Linked DNA regions of Homo sapiens: region 1 is linked to region 2. The links are contacts of gene promoters, found by promoter capture Hi-C in human tissues and cell types (Jung and others, 2019). All regions are on one chromosome and are shown on one strand. Each heading gives the region's core, a stretch centred on a gene start or on the middle of the fragment in contact. The rest is flanking DNA. Distances are from core to core; before and after follow the strand shown. Region 1 overlaps WDR70 (WD repeat domain 70). Region 2 holds the start of WDR70 (WD repeat domain 70).

The links. The method cuts DNA at HindIII sites, captures the fragments that hold promoters and counts their contacts. A contact is called where the count stands out against the background at its distance.
Region 1: a fragment that was not itself captured here is called in contact with the fragment with the promoter of WDR70 in region 2 in 1 of the 25 tissues and cell types used here (lymphoblastoid cells).

The regions. Positions count from the first base shown.
Region 1 is chr5:37,430,702-37,434,236 of GRCh38, forward strand. The region is part of intron 5 of WDR70 (WD repeat domain 70); the gene reads left to right. Among named protein-coding and RNA genes, the nearest start is that of WDR70, 53 kb to the left of the region's middle. RefSeq lists an enhancer at 1,932-2,434. The HindIII fragment of the contact is 5,729 bases long and covers 1-3,535 here.
Region 2 is chr5:37,378,052-37,381,328 of GRCh38, forward strand. It overlaps WDR70 (WD repeat domain 70), which reads left to right and starts at 1,267. Exons shown (of 18, transcript NM_018034.4): 1 at 1,267-1,341; 2 at 1,438-1,503. The coding sequence starts at 1,317. The HindIII fragment of the contact is 7,487 bases long and covers 1-3,277 here.

The sequences.
Region 1 (3,535 bases), core at 399-2,898, 53 kb after region 2:
AAGCCTGCGCCACCACACCCAGCTAATTTTTGTATCTTTAGTAGTGACGGGGTTTCACCATGTTGGCCAGGCTGGTCTCAAACTCCTGACCTCAAGTGATCCACCTGCCTCGGCCTCCCAACTGCTGGGATTACAGATGCGAGCCACCGTGCCCAGCATGTGTATGTATACAGTTTTTTTTTCCTTCTATCGTCCAGGTTGGAGTGCAGTGGCGCAATCTTGGCTGACTGCAACCTCTGCCTCCCGGGTTCAGGCCATCCTCCTGCCTCAACCTCCTGGGTAGCTGGGACTACAGGCTTGTGCCACCATGTCTGGCTAATTTTTGTATTTTTACTAGTGATGGGGTTTCACTGTGTTGGCTAGGCTGGTCTGGAACTCCTGACCTTAGGTGATCAGGCTGCCTTGGCCTCCCAAAGCGTTGGGATTGCAGGCATGAGCCCCTGTGCCTGGCCATATATATTTAAAGTTCTGACTGTCATCGGATTGCAAGATTCATGAAGGCAGGAACCTTCTTTCTTTAAAACCAGAATATCATCAGTGCTAGGCATAGTCAGTACTCAATAAATATTTATTGAATAGTTAATTATAAGAGTGACGTCAGGGCTTTGGGTGGAGAGTAACAGAGCTATCTTTATTTCTTCACATCTTAAGTCCTTAAGATCTCTTATATAATTCCTCTTTTTTTTTCTTTTTTCCATTCCCACTGTATTATGTCAATTCAGGTCCTCTCTGGATTATTGCAAGAATATTTTAATAGGCTTCCCTGTGCTTACACTGGCATTTACCTTATACTGGTAATTTCCTAGTTCAGCCTCCACACCACAGCCTTGATGATTTTTTAATTATTAATTTTATTGTGCTAAAAACACATAACATAAAGTTTACCGTCTTAACCATTTTTAAGTGTACAATTCAGTATTGTTACATATATTCACATTATTGTACAATCAATCCCCAGAACTTTTTCATTTTGCTAACTGAAACTCTATATCCATTAAATAGCAACTCCCAGTTTCCTCCTGCCCCCAGCCCCTGGCAGCAACCATTCTGCTTTCTATCTCTATTAATCGGACTGCTCTAGCACATATAAGTGGAACCATATAGTATTTGTCTTTTTCTAACTGATGTATTTTACTTAATATAATGTCTTCAAGGTTCATCTGTGTTGTAGCATGTGTCGGAATTTTCTTTCTTTTAAGACGGAAAAATATTCTGTTTTATGTTTATGTCACGTTTTGTTGATTAATTCATCCATCAGTGGATACTTGGGTTGCTTTTCACCTCTTGGTTGTTGTGAATACTACTGTGAACGTGGATGTACAAATAGCTCTTCAAGACTCTGCTTTCAATTCTTTTGGGTATATACCCAGAATTGGAATTGCTGGATCATACAGTAATTATATTTTTAATTTTCTGAGATACTACCAAGCTGTTTTCCGTAGTAGCTATACCATTTTACATTCCTACCAACATTGCACAAGGATTCCAGTTTCTTTACCTCCTTACCAACACTTGTTATTTTCTGTTTATTTGATAGTAAAAGTTTTTTGATCCTAGTGTGAAGTGATATTTCATTGTGCTTTTAATTTGCATTTCCTTAATTATTAGTGATGCTGAGCATCTTTTCATGTGCTTATTGGCCATTTGTTTACCTTCTTTGGAGAAATGCCTGTTCAAGTCTTTTGCTCATTTTATTTTTATCTTTGAGACGTAGTCTCGCTCTGTGGCCCAGGCTGGAGTGCAGTGGCGTGATCTCGGCTCACTGCAACCTCCGCCTCCTGAGTTCAAGCGATTCTCCTGCCTCAGCCTCCTGAGTAGCTGGGACTACAGGCGTGTGCCACCACGCCCGGCTAATTTTTGTATTTTTTTTTTTTTTACTAGAGATGGGGTTTCGCCGTGTTAGCCAGGATGGTCTCGATCTCCTGACCTTGTGATCCGCCCACCTCAGCCTCCCAAAGTGCTGGGATTACAGGCATGAGCCACCGCGCCCGGCCTTTGAGCCACCGCGCCCGGCCTTTCTGGCTAACTTTTTGTATTTTAGTAGAGACGGGATTTTGCCATGTTGGCCAGGGTGGTCTTGATCTCCTGACCTTCCTCGTGATCTGCCTGCCTTGGCCTCCGAAAGTGCTGGGATTATAGGCGTGAGCCACCGCACCCGGCCTTTTGCTCATTTTAAAATGAGGTGGTTTGTTTTTTTCTGTTGTTGAGCTGTAGAAATTAAAAAACATATATAATCTGGATTTTAATCCCTTATATATAAGATTTGCGCAAATTTTCTCCCATTTCTCTGTAGATTGTCTTTTTACTGTATTGATTATCTCTTTTGATGCCCAGAACACCTTGGCGATATTTTAAAATCTCAGATTTTTTTTTGTTGTTGTTGAACAGAGTCTCAGTCACCTGGGCTGGAGTACAGTGGCACGATCTTGGCTCATTGCAACCCTCACCTCCTAGGTTCAAGCAATTCATGTGCCTCAGCCTCCCAAGTAGTTAGAATTACAGGTGTGTGCTACCACGCCTGGCTAATTTTTGTATTTTTAGTAGAGATGGGGTTTCACCATGTTGGTCAGGCTGGTCTCAAACTCCTGGCCTCAAGTGATCCGCCTACCTTGGCCTTACAAAGTACTGGGATTACAGGCATGAGCCACCGTGCCTGGCCTAAAATCTCAGACTTTATCAAATTACTTTCTATGACTCAGAGCTTAAACTTCTGTTTTTTGGAATTGTATACAGCCTGATTTGGAACTCTCTCTCTGGCTTTTATGTATACAGTTGGCCCTTTGAGAGGAATTGGCTCCAGGACTCTCCTGCTGATCCCCAAATGCAAGGATGCTGAAGTCCCTTATATAAAAATGGCATAGTGCTGTATATGTATAACACATACACCCTTGCTCTATTTTCTGCCTAGCAATTCAAACTCTAGTAAGGGAAAAATACTTGAAGTTCAGAAAGTGTCAAGATTTATATTATTCTCTCCTGGATGTTCATCATATTCATCTAGATAACCTCTATTTTTTGAAAGATACCAGAAATCTCTTTTCTAACCACCTACTTTCTTAGGCAGAATGGAATTGAGCACTGAACCCTGTGTATACTTCTGTTACAGCAACTGAAACATTTTCATTTGCCCATTTGTTTACCTGTCTTATTTTGCTTTTCTGGACTGACAGTTCTGTGTAAGCAGAGTCTTTGTTAATAGTTCTTTTATCATTAATCTAACCCAGTGTGTGGTATGTAATTAAATAATAAATGTTTCTTAAGTGAATGTTTAGTGAGTAAATGAAGGTATTAGTTCATTCTCACACTGCTATGAAGAAATACACAAGACTGGATAATTTGTAAAGGAAAGAGGTTTAATTGACTCACAGTTTCACACTTCTGGGGAGGCCTCAGGACACTTACAATCACGGCAGAAGGCAAAGGAGAAACACCTTCTTCATAGGGTGGCAAGACAGAGTGCGACATGCAAGCAGGGGAAATGTCAAATGCTTATAAAAAACCATCAGATCTTCTGAGACTCACTCTCAGGAGAACA
Region 2 (3,277 bases), core at 17-2,516:
ATTGAGACCATCCTGGCTAACACGGTGTAAACCCTGCCTCTACTAAAAATAGAAAAAATTAGCTGGGCGTGGTGGCGGGTGCCTGTAGTCTCAAATACTAAATAGCCGGGCATGGTGGCGCACACCTGTAGTCCCAGCTGCTCGGGAGGCTGAGGCAAGAGAATCGCTTGAACCTGGGAGGCAGAGGTTGCAGTCAGCTGAGATCACGCCACTGCACTCCAGCCAAGGCAACAGAGGGAGACTCAGTCAACAACAACAACAACAACAACAAAAAGGCAGAGCGCGGTGGCACGGGGCCTGTAATCCCAGCACTTTGGGAGGCCAAGGTGGGCAGATCACCTGAGGTCAGGAGTTCAAGACCAGCCTGGCCAACATAGCAAAACCCCGTCTCTACTAAATACACAAAAATTAGCCGGGTGTGGTGGCAGGCGCCTGTAATCCCAGCTACTCAGGACACTGAGGCAAGAGAAGAGCTTGAACCTGGGTGGCAGAGGTTGCAGTGAGCCGAGATCACGCCATTGCACTCCAGCCTGGGCAACAGAGTGAGACTCTGCCTCAAAAAAAAAAAAAAAAAAAAAAAAAGCAAAGGGTGTCGCCTGTAATCCCAGCACTTTGGGAGGCCGAGGCAGGCGGATCACTTGAGGCCAGGAGTTCGAAACCAGCCTGGCCAACATGGCAAAACGTCGTGTCTACTAAAAATACAAAAAATTAGCTGCGCGTGGTGGTGGACGCCTGTAATCCCAGCTACTTGGGAGGCTGAGACAGGAGAATCGCTTGAACCCGGGAGGCGGAGGTTGCAGTGAGCCGAGATCACGCCATTGCACTCCAGCCTGGGCGACAGAGGCTCCGTCTCAAAACAAAAACAAAAACAAAAAAAAAACAAACCAAAACAAAAAACCAAAAATTAGCCGGCACCTGTAATCCCAGCTACTCGGGAGGCTGAGGCAGGAGAATCGCTTGATCCCGGGAGGCAGAGGTTGCAGTCAGCTGAGATTACGCCACTGTACTGCAGCCTGGGCGACAGAGGCTCTGGCTTAAAAAAAAAAAAAAAAAAAGGGAAAGGATGTTATAGAAACTCCAGATACTACTTCTCCCCTCCAGTGGTCTGAGTTGCGCGGCGCTTTCCCGCCTGTCCGGTAGGGCGGTGCCGCGCAGAAAGCCGCGGTCCCTCTGCGGAAGGCGCCGCTCTTGGCTTCGGCGGCGCCGCTGTAGCTTGAAGGCGGTACTTCCTCCAGCATTTGCCGCAAGTTATTGGCAAGTTCCCCTGCAGTTGTTTGGGCTGTCCCTGTGGCTGGTTCTGGGGTGTGCGGCCAGCCATGGAGCGCTCTGGGCCCAGCGAAGGTGGGTTTCATGAGGCGAGTCCGGGCGGGGTGGGCCGTGTCGGGGGAGCTGGGGCGCCGCACTAACTAGGCCGCCTCTCTTTTCCTCTTGCTCCAGTGACAGGCTCAGACGCGTCGGGACCGGACCCGCAGCTTGCGGTCACCATGGGCTTCACGGGGTTCGGTGAGTGACTGCCCCAGGCAGAGACCCTCTTCCTTGTGCAGAGGTTTGAAGATCCGCAGAGTGGGAGTGGAGATCGAGCTGTCAACTCGGAATTATTGTAGCTCGGGTGCATACCTTGCAGTTTGTCAATATTCTTCTCCCATTTGTCTTCTATTCTGCGTTATCCGTTGGAACCAACTCAGATGACAGTTATGAGAGTCTGGAGAGAGAGGAAGAGAAAGGATTTTTCTAATTTTAAGTCACCAATAATGCTAAAATGAACATTTTTGTAAATAACAGCATTTGTACGAGGATTTTTAAAAATACGTAATTCGGTAGGGTAGATTTCTAAAAGAGAGTGTAGTTTATTCAGAAATATAAATACTTAAAAAGCTGAAAAATTGGGTATGTGCCTTTTAAAGCTTCTTGATGCTTATTGCCGTAATACCCATCAAAAAACTTGTTCCAGGTTATACCAAAGTTAACAGAATTAAGAATGCCATTTTTACCATATCCCTACCAACACAGAGTAGGTATTATTATTTAAAAAGAAAATTATTTAAAAAATGAAAACAAAACTTAGTAGACTGATACATGAAAAATGATTTCTCTTTATTTTCCATTTTAAAATTATAAATGCTGTTCATCCAAACATTGGGATTCTAACTTCCCTGAACCTTTTCTCAAGGTCTTCTTGTTTTCTTTTGACCAGCGTGTATTAATTCTATGATAGTAATTAAACAGTAGACTTACACATATTGGCCTTGGGTTGTGTTCACACATACTAGTTCTGTAGTTTCTCTATTCATTCTTTTTTTTTTTGGAGACGGAGTCTCGCTCAGTCGCCCAGGCTGGAGTGCGGTGGCAAGATCTCGGCTCACTGCAATCTCTGCCTCCCGGATTCACGCCATTCTCCGGTCTCAGCCTCCCGAGTAGCTGGGACTACAGGCGCCCGCCACCTCGCCCGGCTGATTTTTTTTTTGTATTTTTAGTAGAGACAGGGTTTCACCGTGTTAGCCAGGATGATCTCGATCTCCTGACCTCGTGATCCGCCCGTCTCGGCCTCCGAAAGTGCTGGGATTACAGGCGTGAGCCACTGTGCCCAGCCTTTTCTATTCTTTTTTTATTTTTTGAGATGGAGTCTCGCTCTGTCACCCAGGCTGGAGTGTACTAGTGCGATCTTCGCTCATTGCAGCCTCCTCCTCCCAGGCTTAAGCCATCCTCCCACCTTAGTCTCCTGAGTAGCTGGGACCACAGATGTGTGCCACCACACCTGGCTAATTTTTTATACTTTTGGTAGAGACGAGGTTTCACCATGTTGCCCAGGCTGATCAATCTCCTGAGCTCAAGCAGTCCGCCCACCTGAGCCTCTCAAAGTGATTACAGGCATGAGCCACCCCACCCGGTATAAATCCTTCATTTTAGTACATCATTCCTTTACTCAGGAGTGAGAAAGTTGTCCATATGTTTGTGCCAAATAGGGGAAAATTTTAAGAGTTTTGATAAAGTTACTGGGGGAGGAGGAGAATGTTTCCATGCTCATCCAGTTCCTTGTTAGAGGGCTGAGATTTCTGTTTCCCTCTTAGCTCCTTAAAGTACCTGCATTACTTCTCATGTTGCCCCTTTCGTCTTCAAGCCAACTATAATGCCTCAAATTCTTCTCAGACATTGGATCTCTCTGACTTCTTCTGCCATAGCTGTTCTGCATCTTTGCCTTTAAGGGCCAAATAGGATAGTTTCCCTATTTAAAAGTCCATAACCTTAATTATATTGCAAAGGGTAACTTTTGGGGCAT